7 separate regions of the Homo sapiens genome follow, and all the other regions are linked to region 1. Evidence: promoter capture Hi-C in 16 types of primary human blood cells and fetal thymus (Javierre and others, 2016). All regions are on one chromosome and are shown on one strand. Each heading gives the region's core, a stretch centred on a gene start or on the middle of the fragment in contact. The rest is flanking DNA. Distances are from core to core; before and after follow the strand shown.

Region 1 (3,273 bases), core at 236-2,735:
GGATGCAGAGTCCTCTGACTCCCTCTGCCACGGGCTGAGTTTCCGGCTCCAGGTTCGCGTGTCGCCCTGAGGTTTGAGGCCAGACAGCTCGCAGTCGGGCAGGGAGGGCGGGGGAGAGACGAGCGGCTCTGGCCCCTTAATTGTACTTCGGGCTCGTATTGTCTCTCCTTTCGCCACCTCCGCTTCCTCAGTCTGGGCTCCAAAGTCACTGCAAATTTCCTTGCGACACATACATCACACAAAAGATCAGGTAACAAGGCGCTCAGGGCCACTGGGGCTCCGGGCAGGGCAGGGAGCGGCTCTAGCTCTGGGGCGGCTCCCCCTCCAGCCACTCCCAGGCTGGAAAACCAGACCGCGTTGGGGGAGCCGGAAATAGCCCCGCTTGCTGCGGAGCGTCAGGGCGGGGGCGCCGGCGGGAATGCAGGCCCGGCAGGCCGTGGCTTTGAGAGAGCCACGTTCACAGGCCCTGGGGATTTCACTCCTGCTGGGCCTCGGGACCTGACTCCTGGTGTGTAGGGATCCCAGATACCCACCTTGGGTGGGGGCAGGACGCGGGTTTCCTCGCGGCAGGCCAAGAGAACTCAGTTTCTGCTTCCAGCGCAGGCCTTAGCTAGGAGGAGTTGTGTGTGGGTGTGTTTTTCCCAACAAAGAGGGATCAGGAGAGAGAAGGGGGGAAAGTAGAGGGGAACCAGGGAGGGGGCGGGGAGGGGAAGAGGGCAGTGGAGAGGTGAAATGAGCCCATTTCAGGGGGAGAAGGAAAATGAAAGCAAATGGAGTACGGCCTTCTCCGCGCAGGGCGGGTGCTGACGAGCCGGGAGCGGGCTCCCTGCCTGCGGCAGCCGGGATGGCCCGCTGGGGACACCGGAGAAAGCCTGTTTTAAATTTAATCCGAACTTGACGGTGTGGATTGAACCGGAGGGAATTTAAATCACTAAAAGGAAGGCGCGGGGCAGGGGGAGGGGACGACTCTAACCTGTCTATCTTTCTGTCTGTCCTTCCCACGGTGCTAGTTTGGTTGTGGCCGCAGCTGCCCAGGTTTCAGGTGATGGAGTAAGGGTGCCCCTCCCCCTCAGGGGTCTCTCCTGTGCCCAGTGAAGTCTTTTGGGGGTGGGAGGGAACTCTAAGAACCAGAGTGAATGCACAGCTGCGAGCTAAAGCTGGGGTTTCCCCCTCCCCAACAAGAACTCCCAGTGGCCTCCAGTCCCTGGGTTTGCCCCAGCGGTGCTGAGGAAAATTGAAGGGAGTATGTGGGTGAGGGGAAGTCTGGAGTATGGCAGAAGATTCAGAAGGAGTAACTGAACCCCAGGAAGACAGACCTTCCTTCTTGGTGCCCCTATATCCTTTGTGCCCCGCCCCCCGCACCTACAAACCTGGATTTGAGGGAAATCTGCAGGTCCGCTTCAAAGCCCTGGTCTGCCACCCACACCCCTCCAAATGTGGAGAATGGGGGCTACAGGCCACATGCAGTTGTGGACCTGCGGAACCTCCGCCCAGTGGACTCCGGAACTCCCAGCCTCTTCTAGCCCCCCTCCCCAAGGCCGCCTCTCTCCGAAGGGCGCAGGGAAAATGAGGCATTGGCTGGGAAGGGGCTGTGGGCGAGGCCTGCTTCCTGATCCACAGCCGTGCCTGCCTCTGAGTGGGAAGAGTTCGGAGGTCATAGTCCCAGAAAATAAAATAAAATAAAGGAAAGCGACAATCTCCTTGGTTTCACAGGGGATTTCACGGCAGCAGGGATCCCGCCGGTGAGCCTCACTGCCCGCTGCTGCCGCCTCCGCAGAGTGGGCAGGCAGGGTGCGCAGGCAGCTCAAGAGTTGAAAAGAAGGCGGTGTTCAAAGGGGGTAGGAGAGAAGGGGGCATCTCTTTACGGCCCCAATGTCTATTTGAGGAACTCTCCCAAATAGCAGAGGCCCATAGGGGAGGCTCCTTAGGGACTCTTTCCTCCAGGAAAGCTGAGGCTGGGGCAGCTGGCCTTGTCGCTTGGAGAAGACGCAAAGGAAGAGCAGGGGTGAAACCTCTTTCCTCTTCTGTTTCTTCGCTCCTTGAATAGAGCAGGGCTCAGCCCCCAGCTGCCTAAGCGGCTGTCTGGACCAATATGGGGTTCTATATCCCTGAGGCCTAGAGTACCCATCCGAGCAAGTCTCCTGGGAGGGGCAGGAGAGGAGCCCTCTTCCGCCTTTGTGTCCAGACAGAAGTGGCCGCCGCGCCCGGAGCCGGTCCCGCGGCAAAGGCCCGGCAAGCCAGCGGGCTGCACAATGCCACGGCTGCTCCGCCAGCTCGCCCCTGCCCCGTCCTGCCTGCCTACGGCCGCCCTTCCTCCGCCTCCCTCTCTGCACGCCTGCCTTTCCCGGCTCTCCTATCTCTTTTCATCTTGCCTTCCTTCTTTTAATTCTCCCCCTTTTTTCCCTTTATTCTAATGCTCCGCTTCCTTCTTTCCTCTCTTGGGCCTGACTCCATGTTTCAGTTGGTCTGTCCCAGGCTGTCTCGGGTTCAGTCTCTCTCAGGCTCTGTCCCCTGATGTCCTCTTGGTCTCAGTCTGGCCCCGGGCCCCGCTGAGGGCTAAACGTCTCTGCTCATCGCTGCCAGCAGCCGCCCAAGTGCCGGGCCCGGTCCTCAGCCGCCCTGGGCTGGGGGAGGTGCTGGCTGTACTGGGGATTTGGAGAAAGCCTCGGCAGGGGGACTGGAACCTCCTGTCTTTTCCTTGAACTAGTGAGGGAGATTTTTTGATTGACAGCTAACCCAACTCCATCAAGGCCAAAGAGATATTCTGTTTCTTGTTGTAAGTTGGGCTTCCCAGCTCAGTCCAGCTCAAGGGAGGGGAAGACAGTGGCGCCAAGGAGCTGAACCCCCAAGTCGCCTCTCCCCAACCAAACACATCCCTCATCCTCCCCCATGAGTTGAAATCCCAGCCCCGTTAAGCCGCCCCCTTAGACCAAAAAGGAAAAGGAAAGAGCCAGAGAGGGGGAGGAGCAGAGACTTGGGAGGGGGCCTATGGAGCTGGGGTCGGTGCTGCCAGCTGCAGCTGTCTCCCCCTAACTTTCCTCCCCCCGGAACACACATACTATACACACTCTCCCCAGCCCCTCTCCACCCCAGAGGAGAAAGATCCATAGAGACGCAGGAGAAAACTAGCCCCCGCCCCTACCCCTGGCGTTTGGTCCCCTCCTGGGGACAGGAGAGGGAAAGAAGGGCAGGCGTGGCCGGGTCTGGGAAGACTCCTACCCTGCTGCCTCCAGAGCCTGCATCTCAACCTCAGCTCCTGTCTATTTTCCCTGG
Region 2 (3,273 bases), core at 395-2,894, 430 kb after region 1:
AGGGACATTAACTAATAAGTGCCATTGATCTAAGTAGTATATATTTTTGAGTGCTTACTATGTATAAAGCTCTGTGGGCTATGCTGGGGAGAAAAAGGAGGGAGAAGGAGGGGGAAATGGGTGAGGTTGGAGACATAAATAAGAGCAAAGAGGTAGACAGAGAGGGTTCCGCGAGAGGAAAAGACAGAGGGGCAAGGGATTGGTGAAGGAGAAGGGGGTGGAGGAACCAGGAAGGAGGATCCTAGAAAGATGGTAGGAGAGAGGAAAGGAGAAAGGAAAGGGGAAGCGCATAATAGAGATGGGGGACAGAGGGAAAGGAACGTGAGGAGAGGGAGGGCAGGGGTGCAGAGTCATGGAGAGTGGGAAATATACTTTGGAAGACTGGATGGAGAGACTAATCCTTTCCTCCTGCCAGGTCAGGAACTCTTCATTGGCCAATGAGAGGCAGTGTAACACTGGTCTGCTCCTTCCTCTGCCACCCCCAGCTTCCCATTTAGGACCCAGCTTTCTATGTCCTTTGTCATTTTGGGGTCATTGAGTTGAATCTATTCTTGAGTTCCCTGCCCTCCCACTCCCACCCCGGGGGACCAATTTCTGAAGTCATCTTCCCCCCACTTATTACACTGCAACCTAGTCTCCCTTGTCTTTTTTGGTCCATCTTTGGATTTATTTCCCTGAAGTGGGTGGGCAGGAATGAAGCAGACTAGAGGTGCTTCCAGATCTGTTCCGCCCTTCATCAGTGTCCACCCTTCCCCTCTGAACCAGTCCAAGACTGCGACATTTGTGTCAGAAGTCCCTTTGGCCCCTTTCCTGCTCCTGAATCCCTGGAGTGGTATTTGGAGGTGGGAGGAGGGGTAAGGTCCGAAGTGGAAAGTCTGACGCTGAGTCCAGGCCCCCAGCCCCACTCAGACTGGCTGAGCTCATCTCTCCAAGCAACCGCAGCTGGACATTTTCCATGTGATCACCTCAGGGAGGGGGGCTGGGTTCCAGAAACCCAGACAGAGTTGACTGAGTATCACAGCTTAGGAACAGAGCACCCTCAGGTGCCTCCTCTCCGCCTTCTCCTGTGTTTTGCATGGGAAAGCCCTGGGGGAGTAGCAAGGAATGGAGAAACAGACCTGGAGAAGGGCCAAAGCTGGAATATATTTTGGGCCCAAGTTGACCCAGGTTTCTACATCTTTCCCATGTTCACCATTTGTGCTGGCCAGGCTGGGAAAAGATCCTGTGTGATGTGAATGTGCCTGTGAGGTGAAAATCTCCCTCTCTGTGTGTGTATGGTCTGAAAACCTGAACATGCTTGTGTTGGTGTATTTGCATGGGTGGGGTATCTGTATCCTGATCTGTCAATAGGCTAAAGTTGGGGGTGTGTGTGTGTGTGTGTGTGTGTGTGTGTGTGTGAGGTGTGATTGCCCCTGCTCTCTTGCCAGTGCAGTGGGAGGTGAGATAGCAGTTTGGGGAAGAGGGCTGCCTGTTCTTACAACTCTCCCAACCCTCCCCACTACCACATCCCTTCCCAAACTCATGGTGTTCTCTTTCAACTGCAGATACTGGAGGGCCAGAGAAAGCAAGCTTGAAACAGAGAGGAACGGGTCACTTTGGTGGAGGAAATTGGGGTAAGGGAGCTTCTGGAACTGGCTAACATGGGAGTGATCATCTAGCTATTGATGCAGGGGCTGCTGTGAGAATAGCCCCGGCCTCTGCCATGAAGGCTGCTGAGCTGGAAGCTTTAGAGGGCGTTTCGTGTGGGTCTCTGCACTCCTTTCCCTACTCTGCCCTGGGCCTGAGATGTCTGGACAGGCTGGAGGAGGTTGGTGGAGAGGCAGGGAAGGGTATGGGCAGGAAGCACTTGGCTGTTTGTTCCCTCTCTTTCCTGACTCCTTTGTGGCAGCAGACTGGCTTCCTTCCTTCTCTCAGCATCTTGGCTCCCAGCTCATTTCCGCTTTTATGCCTTTAGTCTGGCTCTCAGCCTTGCACAGCGGAGTTTTTCCAAGCCGGGTCTTCTGGGCATAGGGACTCCTAGATGAGTGGGGCAGGGGCTGAGGAATGCAAATGAGATGTCAGTGTGCCCTTCCCTCAGCCCATTCAAAGTCTGTAGCCCTGGATTGAATGAACTGGAGGAGAAGCTTATTTGCCAGGGGATGGGAAGCAGAAACCCAGGTGTTTGGTTACCTGGGGCCTGCCTCTCCTTCAGCCTGAGATATGGAGAGAGCAGGGCTGGAAGGACTCCCTACCCCCACCTCAGCCTCGCTTCCCGCTCTGCGTCCCTACTTGGCTGTCCTTGCTTCAGTCTGCCCCTGCCCCACCTCCCACCTCCAGCTACTGCCCTACAAGTCAAGGAATGTAAGTTTTATTTCTCACCCTCTCATTGATTAGTCATGGGCACCCCGATCCCCACGGGAACCGTTACTCACCCTTGGGCCCCCCCTCACCAGCAGTCTCCCCAGAACTGGCTGGGTTCCTGTAGGAGGAGTTCACAGCCAGCCGTTGGACTTGGGGGGAGGTAGTGGGGGTTGTGGGTGGTGGGCAGTGTCCTGGAGACAGCCACTTTTGGAACAGTGGTTTGACCTTATTATGGCCCGGAAGCATGAGTCTCTCCCTCCTCCCAACACACACATATATACACAGAGACGTTGTACTCCTGGTTCTAGCTACTTTAATCACCATGGGTATTTTGTCAGAATAGGTGAGGTTGGGGTAGGGGAAGTGTCCTGTGACTGTCTGGAGAAGAGCCCAAAGCAACTGAACATTTAGTCTCTTCACTGGTGCTGGCTTTGGGGGCCAGGACTAGGGCCTGGGGCCTGCTCTTTGGACTTGGCTGAGTGCCCAGGCCTGGCCTCTGTCTCCCAGAATCAGACAGGGGCCTTTCCCAATAAGGAGCTTCCCAACTCTGGGTCCACTTCCCTGTTGCCCCCACCCCTTCTCCCCTCTAACAGTTCTTCTGCCCTAAAATGGCCACGTTTTGCCTTTCTTCCCTCCCCTACACCCAGGTTTGGGCCCCAGGGGTAGAGCTGGGGGTTGGATAAGGGTAAGACTGCACAGGGGCCAGATGGGCTGGTTTGGAGAAGGGTAATGAGATCCCAGGAAGAGAGAGGAACCGTGCCACATGACTCAGGTATGTATGGGGGGTGGAGGTGGAGGCACGGCTTCCTGGAGTTATTGTCTCTCCTATAATAATAATAGCTTATGCTTTATGCTATATAGTATGTGTTCTAAGAGCTTTATATGAATTAACTTATTTAATTGGCACTGCCCCTTTATCAGGGAGGTACTATT
Region 3 (3,273 bases), core at 676-3,175, 410 kb after region 1:
ATCCTCCCAAATCCCACTCGAGAGTCTCATCTCACCCCTGGGTGTCTGACGAGTCCTGAGTACTCAGCCTCTGGAGGGGCGGTGACCCGAAGCTCAGCCTCATAGGCGCCACCCTCACCCACATTCTGGGCATGGAAAGTGAGGTTCAGGGCATTCTTGTCACCCAGGTACACATGGTTCTGCTCCCTGGAAGGGACACAGAGGGTAAGGGACATTGGTGAATTAATCCTCAAACCAGGACAAAGGACCATTATAAGAGTAGTAATACGAGGCCGGGTGTGGTGGCTCACACCTGTAATCCCAGCACTTTGGGAGGCTGAGGCGGGTGGATCACGAGGTCAGGAGTTCAAGACAAGCCTGGCCAAGATGATGAAACCCTGTCTCTACTAAAAATAATAATAAAAAAATTAGCCCGGCATGGTGGCAGGCACCTGTAATCCCAGCTACTTGGGACGCTGAGGCAGAGAATCGCTTGAACCTGGGAGGCGGAGGTTGCAGTGAGCCGAGATTGCGCCACTGCACTCCAGCCTGGGTGACAAGGGCATGACTCCGTCTCAAAAAAAAAAAAAGAGTAATAATAAAGTAACAATAGACACTGCTTACTGAGTTCTAACTCTATGGCAGGCACTAGGCTAGATTTTTTATGTAGATTATTTCATTTAATCTTTCCAAAAAGTCTGAGAAATAAATGCTACTATTCCCACTATACAGACAAAGGAGTTAAAGCTCAGAGCAGCTCAGCAACTTCCCAAGGCGACACAGCTAGTATGTCCCTAGCTGATTTTTTCAGGTGCCAGGTGCACCTGGAGCTCCCTAGCTTACCGTCAGCCCTACTTACCCAAACACTTCCAGCTGCAGGTCAGGCACACAGATGTTGTCTTCTCCACAGTCCAGCAAGATCTGAGCCTGGGGAGCAGGGCAGCCTTGAGAGGGGAAGTTTAGACCCATTCCTGGGCTGTAGGCTCTTCTCTTTCCATGGCCCTGCCCCCCCAATACCCAGGCCTCTGTCTTCCCAGGTCCCTTCTCCCTGCCCTGTCCTCACCTTGTCCTCTATCCGGCTCTTGCTCTGATAATGTAGGGCTGGCCTGAGGCCGTGGCTGTCCACTGGGGCTTGGGGGTCCAAGGAGAAGTTGAGAGCGATGTGAATCGGCGAGAGTTTGTCTCGAAATTCTGACTCGTTCTGGGGCCAGAGGAGAGAGTTCACGGAGTCAGGGGACTCTGGAGACTTAGTGGCCCTGCTCCTCAGCCTCTCTCATCTCCCTTTGTCTGCTTAGGGCCCAATTCCGACCATCCTCATTGTTTCAGAGGCCCTGGCAGCCTGCTTCCCAGCTCCTCTGACAGAAGGTCTCCCTTTCTCAGCCCCTACAAGAGTCCCAAGCCCTTCACTGGAGTCCCCCAGTCTTTTTCCCTTCAGGAGGTGCCCTCAGTTCTGTGTGGCCACCCTCCCTGGCCAGTCCACACCCCGCCCTCTGGGCCATACCCTGAGGTAGATCTTCATCTCTCTGCAATCCTCTCGAGCCCCATTCTGGATGAGCAGGGTCTGGGTCAGGGTTGCCTGCCTGGAGGCCAGGAACAGTGCCCGCCGTACCCCTCCCTTCTGCTTCTGCCAGTCCAGCTGAAGTTCCACTGTGAAACCTGAAGCCAGGGACATATAAAGGGAAACTGCCTGTCTTTCCTCATCTTTTCAGAGAGAAGAAATGTCCCCAGGTCCCCAGTCCCTTCATTCTCTGTCCTAGGGCCTGAGAGATCCAGGCAGTCTCCCTCACCAATGGAGTCAGCAACGTGTTTTCCAGAAGCATTGAGGCAGAAGCTAAGGTTGATGCTGGAGAGAGACCAAGAAGAAAGCTGGTGAATCCAACTGGAACAGACATCCTATCCTCTACCTATCTCCCAGCCAGACCCAGACTAGGACACCACCATTTTCCCCTTTTTAAGGCAGACTTGGTGCCCCTGCCCACTCCCAGGCTCAGGTCTCTGCAATTTCCTGGGCACCAGCTCACCAGGCCACAGGGTTCCCCTCTAAGCTGCAGCTCCGCTCCTCTGGGTTGAACATGGCGGGGAAGATGGTGAGGGAGGCACTAGCGGACACGATGGGGCGGCCCCTGCCAAGAGTGAATGTGGGGTCAATAGAATTAGGACTCCTCTGTAACCTGGACACAGGAAACTGATGCCCAAGCGCCAGAATGTGTGTCCTCTGCATTGATTTTCCCAACCTCAGCTCTGTTGAGAAATTTCCAGTTCCAGTCCACCCAGGTTGTCCCCTCATCTCCCTTTGGAGCTCATACCTGTATACCACAGCCTTGTCCACACCAAAGGACCCCACAATCAGATCTGTAAGAAGTCAAGAAATCACCTCTTACAGCAAGCCCCAGATCAGGATCCTTTCTTCCTAACCCCTCCTGGTTTCAACGCTCAGGGAGGTTGAAGTGAGAAGACAGCGCCCTCTGTTGGAATTAGCCAGAACTGCACCCAGGAACTTAAGGAAAGGTGCAGAAGAGAGAGTAGGGGTCAGTGACCAGGGAATTTTAAGGTGAAAAGGGGCCTCAGGCACAACTCACCAGGATATCCATTGCCATCCAGGTCTCGGCCTCCTCGAAGGGCAGAGCCAAAGAAGTCTGGGGTGTGGCTGGCTGCCCACAGGGGCTGCAGAACCTGGGAAGGCTTAGAGCCCAGCCCTCCTGGGCCCCCAGGAAATACAAACACTACTCCCTGCTGGGTCTCCCCACCAAAGGGAGCCCCGATGGCCACATCTGGAAGACACAGAACACACACTAGTCAGCAGGCCAGGAATCCATGGGCTCTAATCTCTACTACCAGACCCCAGGACCTAGGATCCTATTTTTTCCCATCTGTCAGTCCCTATATTCTAATCTTCAAATCCCAAGACCCAGACAGTGGGATTTTAACCCCTCGGGAAGTCGTGGAGGTCTGGGTATCTTAGCTGACAGATGCCCTCTCCCCAAATCCCTTCTGACTTGGGCCCCTGCCTCCTCTTTCACTCTCTGAGCCCATGGTACTCACCATTGTAGCCATCCTGGTCCAGGTCCCCCAGGGGGGTCAAGGAGCTGCCAAATCGGCCAAACTCATCATGGCCAGTGAGGGTAAGGGTGGGCGTGGGCTCTATGCCGGCTGGGTGCTGCAGGTAGACGTAGACCCTGCCCACCTCCTGAGGCCGCCCGTCAGGGGTCCGATCCATGAGCAGGGGTGCCCCCACCAGCAAGTCATCCAGCCTGAGGGGAAGGGCAAACCCAGGCATCTCGATACCCTGTCTTG
Region 4 (3,273 bases), core at 498-2,997, 360 kb after region 1:
TAAGGCCATAGCGGTTGGAGGGCATGGGGGATGGGGGCGATGTGTGACTCTTCCCCAGCTCTGTTTTCCTTAGGTCTCCCTTATATTATGGACCTCCATCTTTGTTCACTACCCACCCAAACCCAGAACAAGCCCTTTCACTGGGTTGGGGGGTCACAGACACATGGCTTCTAGAGCTGAGGGCTGCAGAAGGTATGTGGATCCATAGGCAGATCCACCACCCCTTCTCAATTTCCTGGAGGCCCAGAGCAAGGGATGTCAAGAAGTATTGGCTGTTTTTAATTCTCAGCAGCAGTGAGGGTGGGCAGGTTGGAGGCCAAGACTCCTAGGAGATGCCCTGAGCCCCACATTCCTAGCCTCCTTTCCCAGGGATCCAGGCTGTGGTCTGTGGAGGTGGGGGATTTCAAATCTTCCTTTCCTGTGAGGATGGTGACAGGCCAGAGAAATCTGCCTCTGAATTTTCTGGCTTATCTCCCCTATTCCTCAGCAACTGAGCTTAAGGGGACAGGGGGGAAATGGGCTTCTCCCCACCTTCTGCAAAAATGTTGTAACTGCACACTAGGGGCTATACGAATGCCAGGATGCTTGGAAAGTTCCTCCCCTATCTGCCTTCAATCCTTTCTGCTGCAAAGCTCTGCAGTCCTCTGAGGGGCTCTACAGGATAGTCAACCCCTCTTCCTGATACCTGAAACCCATTCCTCACCTCCGTCTGTGCTTCCTTCTCTGGCTCAGGAGGAGAGGGAATGTGTGGGTGGGGCCTTGGGAAAATGGCCATGTTAAAAATAGGAGCCCCCAGCTGCACCCCCCAGTGGACCCTTATTTATCACCTTCTAAATCTCACTCTCAAAGAAGCATAAATATTCCTAATTCCTGAAGGCCACCCTGGACTCATAAATTTAACTGGGGAGGTGGGCAAGGGGAGGAGTGAGGTGCATGGGATGGGGAGCTTACTGCAGCCTTGAGGAAGCAGAATATCTCCTGGGGGAGGCGCCTGACTCGTCTGTCCCCTTGCAGACGCCAATGGGTCTTCATAGGGGAGGAGGAGGAGCCTTTCTGTCAATATTTCCGTTGGGGAGTAGTCTTCTCTCACGGCACCTTTCCTCCCTCCCCTAAAAACAAACAAAAAACCAAAAACCTACCTTCCTCCTGGTCTTTCCCATTAGTTCTCTGTCGCTCTCCCTCTCTCTTTTCTTTGCTATTACCTTCCAGTTGTCCTTTCCTGCTTCTCCCTCTCTCTCACCTCCCTATTGCGCCTTTCTCTGTCTTTGCTTCTCTAATGCTTTTCCTTTTCAGAGCCATTGTGTGAAAAGGAAATTTCCGTCTCTTATTCAGTCTGGATAGTGAGATTTGAAAAGTCCCTCTCTCGATGCCCGATTTCCCTGCTTCAGCCCGTGTGGCCCCTCAAATGTGTCCTTTCTCTTCATCTCTCCTTCTTTCTTCTCGGATCTTGGACAAATTACCCAACCCCCCATTTAGCTCCTTAACCCTCTCTCTCTTCCCCTGCCTTCCTTCTCTCCTCAACCTTCCTTTCTTTCTGTCATCCTTTTGCCCTCTCAGTTTCCCCTTCGTTCCTCAGCTCGGAATCCTCTCTCCCTGTTCAGTCTCCTCTGCTCTCCCTGTCGGCCCCCATCCACACCCCTCAAACTCGACTCCTCGGCCCATGTGTACCCTCAGACCCCATCATCCCTTCAGTTCCCGTTACCACCACACCCCAGTTTCCCCTCCCAGTGGACGAAAGAGAAGGGAGGAGGGGGCCTGAGGAACAGGTAGAGGGAGCGCCATTCCTTGAGGGGAGGGAAAGAGGGGAAAAAAGCGGGGGAGAGGAGGAGGGACGCGGCGGGAAGGGGAGGGGAGGGGCATCCTCACTCCTCACTCCCTAGCAGCTGCACCCCCCTCCCCGCGGCTGCTGAGCCATAAATCAGGGCCAAGGTGGTTTGGCCAATGGTAGAGTGACTCGTAAATCGGCCTGTCAAGCTCAGCCAATGAGAGGCGGCGTTAAATCAAGTTCTGTCAGCGCTTGGCCAATGAAAGGCCCTGGGCTGACCATAAATCTGCCTGTAAGAGACAGCGAAAGAGAGAGAGCGTGCGAACGAGCAAGAACAGCCCGGGCGGGCGACTGGGGAGGGGGCGGGGGGAGCGCGGCAGCGGGGATTGGAGAGACGAGCTTAGGAGAAAAAAAAAGGCGATAACAGAGGTACAGGAGATGAAGACAGCCTACAGGAGAGACGGACAGATGGAAAGAGACAAAGAGAGGCAGTGAGAGATAGCGTCAGAAAGTCAGGGATAGAGCTCGGACTCGGGCGAGAGACTGACAGAGATAAAGAGACAAAGAGAGACAGACAGTGACTCACACTCGTGAGCATAAAGGGCCTCCAAACACACACACATCCCGAGACACGCATGAGCAACGCACCACGAGGGACCCAGTGCATGGCCTCACTCGCCAAGCACAACCGCAAGAGAGAGAAGGCCTCAAGAAAGCCTGGCTTTTCTTCAGTTTCATTCCCCTCATTCAGCCCTTATTGAAATTAGGGGCTGGGGTGGATGTGTGGGCCGTGGCGGGTGGCTGCTTTTTTGCTAAGATCTGTCCTCTATGGTCTTAGACCCCAGGATTTCCTTCTGTGTCTCCTGAGTTTTTTTTTTTTCCCCCCAGCGACTGATAATTGGGAAGTCCTTTCTGAGGTCTAACCTCAATCCCTATTGCTTCACCTTTCTACTTGACACCGTTGTGATTTGCCTTCTAAGGACATGTAAAGTGAATCCTTTTACAACTCTTCAGAGTTGTCAACTTTCAGAATCTTAGAAGGTCTGAATAGGAAGGACAGTTAGGGATCATCTGGACACTTGATCCTAGTTTTAGAAAGGCGGATTTGAGACTCTGCCCTCAAATCACGGTCTTACAACGTACTAGGCATTCGGCCTTGGACAAATTACTTAACCTATTTGTGCTTCAGTTTTCACATTTGTAAGAAAGAAATTATAATAGATACTTCATGGTAATTTTGTGAGGATTACATGAAATAATATATGTACAGGGAACTGCACTGGGCACGTGTTAAGAGTGTACCCCGCACCCCGCTTTGTACAGATGATAAAATCTGAGCCCCAGAGTGGTCCAGAGATCTGCTCAAGTTCCGAGAGCTAACTATGAGAGAGCCTTGACTGAAACCTTTGTCTCTACACCCATAAACTGTTGTTCTTCATTGGTCCAACAGTTTACCTGGACCCCTGCCTTAGTAGCCCCAGCTTGATTTGGTTTAGGCTCCTGTGACT
Region 5 (3,273 bases), core at 510-3,009, 340 kb after region 1:
CCTATCACCTCAGCCTCCTGAGTAGCTAGGACTATAGATGCACGCCACCACACCTGGCTAATTTTTTTTATTTTTGTAGAGATGGGGGGTCTCCCTGTGTTTCCCAGGCTGGTCTTGAACTGGCCTTAAGCAATCCTCCTGCCTCAGCCTCCTGCGATTTTCCTTCTCCTAGTTAGCTGGCTCCCTTGAAGTTGCAGTGGTAGAGGAGAGCAACAGACCACCACAGGTTTTGCAAGTGATATACTTACAGTTGAAGAAGAACCATTAAGACTGAGGCCGTGATTCCTTATTTGATTCTTGGTAGTGGAAAAAAAATTACCCTCTTGCTCACTCACTCTAGGCCCCAGAGTGTTTCTCAGATAGATCATCTTCTCACTGCTTCTTAACTCCCCCAAAATTCAGGTTGGCTTTTGTCCTTGGAAGTTAAGTGGTAGTGGTTAAGGTATAGTGGAAGAATTGGAGAACATAGGAGAGTTTTTGAAGATGGCTGTTTTACTAGGCTGCATTGAGAACTGGTGTGCCTGTGCGTGTGTGTGTGTGTGTGTGTGTGTGTGTGTGTGTGTGTGTAAACGCTCTTTTCCCTCTGCTTAGTGTGTGGGTGGTTTAGGGAAGGCTTGCTTTATGCTTCTGCATTGCTACTGCATTCGGACTGCAGAAACTTCCAAGTATACTAGGACATTCAACCCTATTTTCAAATGGCTTTGTTCAGTGCCTTTTAATTAATCTGGTCACATTCTATAGCCACCTGTACATGGGAGAGCAGGAAGGGAGAGGGTAATTTGGAAAATAACTGTACCATAATATTTGGAAATAACAGCATGACCTCTCTTGATTAAGCCCCCTGTGAGTCAGAGAAACTGTTTCTCTGATGGTACTTTGGAATCCTTTGTTTAAATGCTTTCTCTGTCAATTCAGTTTACTTACCCTGGGTCTTTCTCAATGGGAAATATCAAAATCTGACCAAGTTGAGGTAAGGGACTTACAGAGGTACCTCTGTATCCCCTTGCAGCCCCAGTGGGACTAGGGGAAGGTATCTGGTTTACCAGTGGTGATGGGAGGCTTCAGGACTGAAGGTATGTTCGTATCTCTTCAGGAACCTTCCCTGTATACTGTCAAAGCCATCCTGATTCTGGACAATGATGGAGATCGACTTTTTGCCAAGGTGAGATTCCCTTTCGAATTAGTTTAGGAACAGCACAAAGGTTTATTCTGAGATTTGAATCTTGGGACTGATACCTTATTAACTTATGTTCCTCAGTAGTATAATTTTGAGAATACTTCCATCTTTTTTTTTTGAGATGGAGTTTCGCTCTTATCACCCAGGCTGGAGTGCAATGGCGTGACCTTGGCTCACTGCAGCCTCAGCCTCCCAAGTAGCTGGGATTACAGGCACGCGCTACCACCCCCGGCTAATTTTTTGTATCTTTAGTAGAGACAGGGTTTCAGCAGGTTGGCCAGACTGGTCTCAAACTCCTGACCTCATGATTCGCCCGCCTTGGCCTCCCAAAGTGTTGGGATTACAGGTGTGAGCCACCACACCCGGCCTGAATTCTTCCATCTTATCTTGCCTACTCCAGATAAAACCTGTTTTCTTTTGTCCCTTAGTTGTACTGCTGCCCTGCTTGCTGTCCTCAGACTTTGACCTCCTTTGTTGTCAGCATCAGATCAGGGAAAAGCTTTGAAACTTTGGTTCCTAACAAAGCAGTATGTAGATGCTAAGAGGCAGTCCGCCCATGTCCATCATTCCTGTCCCCTTCCCTCATACCATGTCACCCTGCCTGGGTTTTTCCAGAGAATTGTCTTGCAGTTCCAGGTTTCCATTCCTAGGTTTATAGTCACCATCAAGCTTGTTACCTCCTGACTTTCCCAGAGTGATGTTTCCAACTTTAGATCTGTTGGAAGAAAGAAGAAAGGACACCCTCTCTCCCTCCATATTCTCCCCCTCCTGTAGAAATTTCTTCTGTCCCTGGTGTATTAACTCCGGGCGAGCGTAGCATAAATCAATCAGCAGGTAGAGATTAGTTTAGAATTCACCAGCTGTTCCTCCCTGTAATTGGATGTAACTATGCAGGACACCTTTTGAAACAGTTATCCAGTTACTAAATGCCAGACCTGTCATGGGTCTTCAGCTGACTGCGACGGATTAGCCCCTAAAGAGCTAGCGATTTAGCAGCCTGCATCTCCGCCCCCTTTGCCAGGGAGAGCCTGGGAATGGGCTCAGTGGTATGCTGGATGCTTCTTTCAGCTTGCAGAAAAGAAAGCTAAGATAGATCATAGGGCAGGGTTTGCCTTTCTTTGGAGGAGGTTTTTGTAGCCTTTCCCCATTCCTCAGCTTCATACAGTGAGTGAGGGTCTATGGAAGTGTTCTGTGCTTCTAGTGTTTTTTGTGTTCTCTGGCACTGCTTCCTGACATGGGGTAGCTCCTAGGAAACACTTGATGAGAATGGTTTTAGGAGAGGTCTAGATTGCAGACAGCTGCAGAGCCTCACTGTAGGGCTGGTAGGCTTCTGCCTTCAGACAGTCTTGGAAATGTGAGGTGGGGTTGCTTATGGCAGGGTCTTTTATTTATTTTTCTTGGATTACTCACTGCCCATTCTCTGCCTCTACAATCCTTCCTTTTCCATGTCAGTATTTCTCCCTTGCCCCATGCCTTGAAGGAGAGAAATCCAAGATCCCAGGGCAAAACATAGTCACTAATCATTCTGGCTTCCAGCTCTAGTGACCCAACCCTGTCTTCTTTCCCTCTGACCAGTACTATGACGACACCTACCCCAGTGTCAAGGAGCAAAAGGCCTTTGAGAAGAACATTTTCAACAAGACCCATCGGACTGACAGTAGGTCATTTTCCTTTCACTACTACCCGTGCTGGGGGGAACCATGGTGGAAAGGGGGTGGTAACAGGGCTGCAGAGAAAGGATGAAATGACTCTGCCTTTTTCTTTTTTTTTCCTTCTTCCCCTTGTATAATAAACTCTTCAGAATGTAATGGGGAGGTGAGTGTACCTCACGCGGGAATACCATGCTGGAAGGTTGGCTGTTAGCTACCTGTCTAGTCCCTGGATTTATGAGCCTCACTTGACAAATTTAATTGCAGCTCTGCTTATTGTACCGCATCCATTAGGGCAGGTAAATGGAAGTCTGTAAAGGTGACCGCTCTGCATTTTCACCTCCGAAGGATCGACTAGTATCCTGTCTCATATACAAGTAGGGAAATAGGTATAGTGGGCAGGAACAGAGGATGGTGGTTACAGAAGATACATTTAGACTCCCCCAA
Region 6 (3,273 bases), core at 238-2,737, 330 kb after region 1:
TCTTTCTTTCTTTCCTTCCTTCCTTCCTTCCTTCCTTTCTTTCTTTCTTTTCTTTCTTTCTCCTTTTCTTTTCTCTTCTCTTCTCCTTTTCTTTTCTTTTCTTTTTTTTTTGAGATGGAATTTCGCTCTTGTTGCCCAGGCTGGAGTGCAATGACGAGATCTCGCCTCACCTCAACCTCCGCCTCCCAGGTTCAAGTGAGTCTCCTGGTTCAGCCTCCCGAGTAGCTGGGATTACAGGCATGTTCCACCACGCCCGGCTAATTTTGTATATATGTATATTTTTTGAGACGGAGTCTCGCTCTGTCACCCAGGTTGGAGTGCAGTGGCGCGATCTCAGCTCACTGCAAACTCCGCCTCCTGGGTTCACGCCATTGTCCTGCCTCAGCCTCCAGAGTAGCAGGGACTACAGGCGCCCGCCACCCACGCCCGGCTAATTTTTTGTATTTTTAGTAGAGACGGGGTTTCACTATGTTAGTCAGGATGGTCTTGATCTCCTGATCTCGTGATCCGCCCGCCTCGGCCTCCCAAAGTACTGGGATTACAGGTGTGAGCCATCACGCTCGGCCTGTATTTTTTTTTTTTAGTAGAGACGGGGTTTCTCCATGTTGGTCAGGTTGGTTTCAAACTCCCGACCTCAGATGATCCGCTCGCCTCGGCCTCCCAAAGTGCTGGGATTACAGGCTTGAGCCACCGCGCCCAGGCACAACGGCTTGTTTCTATTGGAAAACCCCAGAATTTACTCCCTATAACCCCTCTCTTATTCTAATCCCATCCCTTTCCCCGTTTGTCCCGCAAACCCCATCTCCAAAGCCGATTTCACGTTGAGCTCAAGTTGGCCTTTACAAACTGACTTCTCATGTTCCTCAGGCCCAGCAAAGCCTGGAACTCCACCTTAGGGAGATTGTTATTGCGACTATCAACTCCTGGCAGCCTTGGTTTATGTAGTTAACATGTTGGGCCTTTCTTGGCTCTACTCTATGGTTGTGCAGACTTTCTGTGAGGATGCTGAAGTGACCTGAGCGAGCATGAGGGAAGGGCTAGCCACAGAGATCATGGACCTAATGCGGGCGCTGAAAATAGGGATTAGGGCAGGATTCCGGTTAGAAAGCGCCAGTGTTAAAGGCTAAGGAGACACAGCGCCCCCTAAAGAGGGTGCGGTTTAAAAATCGCTAAATCAGTCCGACAATATCACGTGTCCTCGGCCCTACCAATTGAAAATTAACAATCGCTTCTTCTGTTCCCCATGGAAACAACCCCGCCCCACTAACCCTCCCGCCCCAATGAGTCGTGAGGTTTTGGCGTTTTATTGAGTATTCAAGCTGACAATCAAACACCTGAGCCTTCTGGTTGGACACTTTGCTTCCGGTAAGCAAGCTAGTACAATAATTGGCCAATAAAGCAAGCCTTACCCAATGATCCTTATCCTAGGCGGGGCCTAATGGGAACGTATGGCCAATCAGCGGCGGCGTTTCTTTTGCGGCTCCACGTCGGCACCAGCTGCGGGGCAAGATGGAGGCGCTGATTTTGGTAGGAGCTGGAGGGGCAGCAGAGATGCTGTGGTGTCCACAGGGGCCGGGAGTCAGGGTTCAGCCCGAGTGGGAGACGGGGAAAGAGAGTTCCGGGTAATTCTTGGGGACTGAGCGTTCTGCTGACCTTTGGAATAAGTGTGTGGCCTAGTGTAGGAGCTAAAGCCTTGGTTTAGAGTAGGAAGCCCTGCCGGGGAGAGGGCATAGAGTCGGTGGAAAGTTGAAGGCAGCACATGGACTCCTTAGGATACACAGACCTGTAGGCGTACTGGATTAGGACCCTTCAGGTTGCCCCTTATTTTTAGCATTGTGGATGATACCCTGATTTTAATTTACCAAACCACCAAACTCGCCCCATATTGTAAGAAAAGAATACAGATGTTTTGTCGTTACAGACTCCTCCTGATGGTTTCCCAAGTTTGACTCTCCATTGCCGATTCCCTGCCACATTCCTTCAGGAAACTGTTTTGTCTTCGGTTTCCTGTTAATCCCTATTATATAGGTTTGTCAAATAATCAGTATTCCATCAAAGTTCTGGGATACCTGATAAAGTTAGCATGGATTGTGGAATATTTTTTCTAGACTCCTTATTCTGTTCTCCTTTTCTCTACCCATTTAGACCTTAGGAATTCTTTTTTTTTTTTTTTTTTTTTGAGACCGAGCCTTGCTCTGTCACCCAGGCTGGAGTGCGCACGTGGCGCGATCTTGGCTCACTGCAATCTCCACCTCCCGGGTTCAAGCTATTCTCTTGCCTCAGCCTCCCGCGTAGTTGGGACTATAGGCGCGTGCCACCACGCCCGGCTATTTTTTTTGTATTTTTAGTAGAGACGTGGTTTCACCATGTTGGCCAGGCTGGTTTCGAACTCCTGACCTCAAGTGATCCGCCCGCCTCGGCCTCCCAAAGTGCTAGGATTACAGGCTTGAACCACCGCGCCTGGCCAGGAATTATTATTATTATTATTATTATTATTATTTTTGAGACGGAGTCTCACTCTGTCGCCCAGGCTGGAGTGCAGTGGTACGATCTCGGCTCACTGCAAGCTCCGCCTCCCGGGTTCACGCCATTCTTCTGCCTCAGCCTCCGGAGTGGCTGGGACTACAGGCGCTCGCCACCACTCCCGGCTAATTTTTTGTATTTTTTAGTAGAGACGGAGTTTCACCGTGTTAGCCAGGATGGTCTCGATCTCCTGACCTCGTAATCCACCCGCCTCGGCCTCCCAAAGTGCTGGGATTACAGGCGTGAGCCACTGCGCCGGGCCAGGAATTCTTATTGTATGATCTAGGATGCTAATTTCTCCCTCTCTGGTTACATGAGAATTGTGGTCGCTAAAGGGCTGTATTAGCCCTCTTGTCCATATGATGCTTTATGCTTGTTCTAACAAATAAAATACCTGTTACCCCTTTTTAGAACTGGACCAGAGAATTTCTCTCAAAAGTGCCCTATTTTGCGATTTGGAGGGGTGTGTGTGTGTGTGTGTGTGTGTGTGTGTGTGTGTGTGTAGGTAGGTAGGTAGTATAGTGTAGGAATTTAACTCCCAGCCTTCTTCCTTAATTGGCTTGAACTCTAGGCCTCTTTCCAAAGAAGCTTGTCTTTTATTTTCCTTCAGATCTCCTAAGCATACACATTCAGATCCTCATCAGATAAAAGAATAACAGGTTTTAATTCCTCTCTTTCAGTTAAAGACAGTTAATTCCTTATGTCGGTTGGTCAAATATAGGTAAAAAGCTTAAAATCTGAGTAGTTTTA
Region 7 (3,273 bases), core at 306-2,805, 300 kb after region 1:
CCACCATCTTACTCCCACTGGGTTGTCTGTTCCTTCTCTTACTCCCCAACATTATGGATTAGGTAGAAATGGGGTTGTCACCAGGGACTAAAGTCCATCCTCCTTACTCTTAGCCTGGTGGTCCTACCCAGAAAGATTTTTATCATAATCCCTAAGTACTCACAGAATGATACGGAGCTTCATGATTAGGAATACAGAGTGAGGACTATTCGGAGAGGGATGATGGAGAGAGGAATACATTTGGCCTTAGCTGCTGCCCCAGGGCTCTTAACTTCCTTAACGAGGGGGAACGATGAGAGGGGGCTTGCCTCAGGATCCCTTTTCTGAGGCTTATTTGACCACCTCACCTCTCCAGGTGTCAATAGGTGCAGTGAAAGGATGAGGAGGGATTAGTAAAACTTGGGGTATTGGTTAACCGGTAAGCAACCTATTTAGAAAGATTAGGGAGAACTCCCGAAGAGAGAGAGACACACAGAGATGAGACAGAATGAAGGGGAAAAAAAGGAGGGAGAGAGATTTAAGCATAGTGAGCTCAGTGCCCTAGGGACATGCATGACTCAAACAAATGTGTGAGAACAAAGAAGAGGGGGACGAGTTTCTGCTATTGTGTCACTTCATCCCTGGACCCCAAACTCCAGTCCTTTGGTACCGATGTCTAGGGGATCCCAGCCCCAGCAGTTCTGATACCTCCTCTCTTCTCTTCCACTGCTTCCCAAGCCCCTATTTCCCAAGCAGCCAAGAGTTCCAGTTAGAAGCAACTATGCTGGGGTTGGGATGTCTTCCTTCTCCCTCCAGGTCCAGCTGATCTCTACTGCCCCTGGGCACAGAGAAGAGAAAGGGCAAAGGAGCCAACAACCCAGAGGCAATCTCCCATCCAACCCCCGCACCTTGCAACACTTCTCAGAGGTTCAGATATCCAGTGTTTCCAATTCCTCAGCTTTCCCTAAACCTTCTCAGCTGCCTAGACAGGGCAGAGTAATGGAATGGAGTTGGGGAAAGGGTAGTCTATTGGTTCCCTCAGGGTAGCCCACCAGTTGAAGGATTCCTCCTGGCTACTCCCCAGCCCCTCAGCGGTGCCTTGCCTCTGGAGACCCCTCTCTGATCCCCATTCACAGCCTCCACCCCAAGGATCCCAGAGCACCCAAGAAACCACTTAGGTCTTCTCCTAGAGGAGTTCCCAAATATGTCAGATTCCTAAACCAGGGGCAATCTAGAAAGTCTGAGGTCTCCTAGGATACCGAAAGTTGGTTATTTTCCCCCCTCACCTCCTTCACCCCCCAGCCTGCCCCTCGGATCTCACTGGAATCCGCCCCCCCCACACACACCCTGCCTTTCAGGCACCTGTGGTGGAGTCACAGCAGGGTGAGGAGAGAGATGAGGCTCCCGGTGTTGTCTCTGGGGAGGCTGAGCCTGAGCTGACACTGCTGGACGAGGATCCCGGCTACCTTTGAGAATCTGCGAGGACCGCGCCCCGCCCCCGGGCCATTGCTGAGCGCTGAGTGTGGAAGCTCAGGCTGAGCTGAGCACAGGAGCCCCAAGCAGGCGCACCAGCGTCTGAAGCCCTCGGCCTGAGTTCTCAGTCCTTCCTCCAACCCTCCCCTTTCCCCGTGGCTCTCCTCTCCTCCTGCCCCTTTCGGCCAAGAGAGGAAACTTGAGCCCGATGTGGTTTCTGCCCACACCCCGCCCCCACCTTGCTCCTGGCCAGCGGGGGCACACATGGCTCCAAGCCTCTCCCAGCCCTCCTTTTCAGCCCAGGAGTCCAGCCAGGTCTGCGTTTCTCCCATGCATTTGACGAATTCCAACCTGATGGTCCACTCGAATGTGACCTTTAAACTTTATACAGGTTGTCGTCGCCTTGTGTCCCCACGGCTCTCCTAGGGACAGGGAAACTGAGTCATATCAAGGTGGAAGGCAGCTGAAGGTAAGGACCAGGTGTCTAGCTTCCCAGCTGTCTAGGCAGTTGGACGTTTAGGGTATAGCCTTCATTTACAGAAAACCTGGGCTCTGGGAACAAGGGCAGGGGAACTATTTGGAGGAGGAGGGGCAACTGACTGCTTTGATGTGTCCTTTCACCTGTAGCCTTCTCCCCTCCCCCCTCAGCCTCAGAAGTCCCAGGACAAAGGATTCTTTCTTGGCCAGGTTTTTGTCAGTGTGTGAAGGGAGTTAGGTGGGGGGCCACCCAGCAGGGAGATTATTCACCTCCCGTAAAGGGGACCCCAGGTGTCCTTTGTCCTCCTTTCTCCCAGGCAAAGCACCCCAGCCACATGGCACCCAACTCTGTTAGGCCAGTAAGTACCCTTATTCATCTTTTTTTTTTTTTTTTTCCAGAGAGGGGCTCACTCTGTCTCCCAGGCTGGAGTGCAGTGGTGTGAACATGTTTCACTACAGTCTCAAACTCCCAGGCTTAAGCAATCCTCCCACCTCAGCCTCCCAAGTAGCTGGTTCTATGGGTCAGTGCAACCATGCCCAGCTAATTTTTTTTTTTTTTTTTTTTTTTGGTAGAAGTGGTGTCTCACTATATTGCCTTGGCTGGTATTGAATTCTTGGGCTCAAGCAATCCTCCCCTCTTGGCCTCCCAAAGTGCTGGGATTACAGGCATGAGCCACCTCACCCAGCCCACTTATTCATCTTTTTGCCTGCAAGCTACACCACCAAAGCCCCAGGTCAAACATCTTTCTCCACAGACTGTGAGAAAAGAGCCTTTCTTCCTCCTAATTTGTAATGGCTTTCAGCTCTATATGTCTAGCTTCAATCCTGACATCTGCAGCTTACATTTTTTCTTCTTACAATGTTCAAGTTAAATTAGAAACATCTGAAGACTGGGGAAGCAGATAGGTGCCACTCTGGAGTAGGACTGGCATTCAACCAGCATGCTCTGATGGGATTGTATTTGCTGTTAAAATAATGAAAATGTTCAGTCCTAGTTGATAAAAGGCAGCTGCTGTGAGCCCTCTAAGTGTCCCCCACGACTCCACCAATAGCCTAGTTCTCCTCTAAGATCCCCAACAACCCAGCAACACAACCATGGAAGTAAAGAGGCAATGCTGGTACCATAAGGAGCCTCCTGTGCTGCCTGCTTCTGCTGGAATTGGCCAATGCCCATGCCAAACCTATGGTTAAATGCTTTGAATTCCATCCCTTTTCCAGTAGATCATGACTGCACATGCATGATCAAGGTAAGACAGGAGGCAATCCAATGCCTTCATTACATGTTACATGTGGGTTCAGAATCTCTTCAGACTTGGGCATGAATCTGGGTCACATATGTAGGCT

The links. The method cuts DNA at HindIII sites, captures the fragments that hold promoters and counts their contacts. A CHiCAGO score of 5 or more calls a contact.
Region 2: a contact is called between a fragment that was not itself captured here and the fragment with the promoter of HOXC-AS2 in region 1, in 1 of 17 cell types (total B cells). The highest score is 5.3, in total B cells.
Region 3: a contact is called between a fragment that was not itself captured here and the fragment with the promoter of HOXC-AS2 in region 1, in 1 of 17 cell types (naive B cells). The highest score is 5.3, in naive B cells.
Region 4: a fragment that was not itself captured here is called in contact with the fragment with the promoter of HOXC-AS2 in region 1 in 7 of 17 cell types (naive B cells, total B cells, erythroblasts and 4 more); the score reaches 7.8 in naive B cells.
Region 5: a contact is called between a fragment that was not itself captured here and the fragment with the promoter of HOXC-AS2 in region 1, in 3 of 17 cell types (total B cells, naive B cells and erythroblasts). The highest score is 6.5, in total B cells.
Region 6: a fragment that was not itself captured here is called in contact with the fragment with the promoter of HOXC-AS2 in region 1 in 2 of 17 cell types (naive B cells and total B cells); the score reaches 6.8 in naive B cells.
Region 7: the fragment with the promoter of NFE2 here is called in contact with the fragment with the promoter of HOXC-AS2 in region 1 in 13 of 17 cell types (naive CD8 T cells, non-activated CD4 T cells, total CD4 T cells and 10 more); the score reaches 17.7 in naive CD8 T cells.

What each region holds. Positions count from the first base shown.
Region 1 is chr12:53,995,300-53,998,572 of GRCh38, forward strand. It overlaps HOXC-AS2 (HOXC cluster antisense RNA 2), which reads right to left and starts at 1,486. Exons shown (of 3, transcript NR_047505.1): 1 at 1,371-1,486; 2 at 534-610; 3 at 1-219. RefSeq lists an enhancer at 1-486. The HindIII fragment of the contact is 15,520 bases long and covers 1-3,273 here.
Region 2 is chr12:54,426,313-54,429,585 of GRCh38, forward strand. GPR84-AS1 (GPR84, ZNF385A, ITGA5 and GTSF1 antisense RNA 1) reads left to right here. Exons shown (of 4, transcript NR_120487.1): 3 at 1,545-1,613. Among named protein-coding and RNA genes, the nearest start is that of ITGA5, 8.7 kb to the left of the region's middle. The HindIII fragment of the contact is 155 bases long and covers 1,568-1,722 here.
Region 3 is chr12:54,402,145-54,405,417 of GRCh38, forward strand. It overlaps ITGA5 (integrin subunit alpha 5), which reads right to left. Exons shown (of 30, transcript NM_002205.5): 12 at 3,022-3,230; 13 at 2,559-2,750; 14 at 2,286-2,331; 15 at 2,001-2,102; 16 at 1,767-1,822; 17 at 1,481-1,635; 18 at 1,043-1,180; 19 at 839-906; 20 at 36-186. The region is part of intron 1 of GPR84-AS1 (GPR84, ZNF385A, ITGA5 and GTSF1 antisense RNA 1); the gene reads left to right. Among named protein-coding and RNA genes, the nearest start is that of ITGA5, 15 kb to the right of the region's middle. The HindIII fragment of the contact is 8,596 bases long and covers 1-3,273 here.
Region 4 is chr12:54,357,298-54,360,570 of GRCh38, forward strand. The region is part of intron 1 of GPR84-AS1 (GPR84, ZNF385A, ITGA5 and GTSF1 antisense RNA 1); the gene reads left to right. It also overlaps a transcript of GPR84 not described here. Among named protein-coding and RNA genes, the nearest start is that of GPR84-AS1, 5.2 kb to the left of the region's middle. RefSeq lists enhancers at 1-472, 473-1,297, 1,298-2,122 and silencers at 1,680-1,919, 1,930-1,999, 2,150-2,329. The HindIII fragment of the contact is 3,720 bases long and covers 1-3,273 here.
Region 5 is chr12:54,339,454-54,342,726 of GRCh38, forward strand. It overlaps COPZ1 (coat protein complex I subunit zeta 1), which reads left to right. Exons shown (of 9, transcript NM_016057.3): 2 at 1,094-1,162; 3 at 2,753-2,834. Among named protein-coding and RNA genes, the nearest start is that of MIR148B, 3.9 kb to the left of the region's middle. The HindIII fragment of the contact is 170 bases long and covers 1,675-1,844 here.
Region 6 is chr12:54,323,655-54,326,927 of GRCh38, forward strand. It overlaps COPZ1 (coat protein complex I subunit zeta 1), which reads left to right and starts at 1,477. Exons shown (of 9, transcript NM_016057.3): 1 at 1,477-1,527. The coding sequence starts at 1,510. The HindIII fragment of the contact is 3,244 bases long and covers 1-3,109 here.
Region 7 is chr12:54,299,460-54,302,732 of GRCh38, forward strand. NFE2 (nuclear factor, erythroid 2) reads right to left here and starts at 1,556. Exons shown (of 3, transcript NM_001136023.3): 1 at 1,342-1,556. RefSeq lists a cis regulatory region at 1,328-2,302 and an enhancer at 1,703-2,443. The HindIII fragment of the contact is 10,882 bases long and covers 1-3,273 here.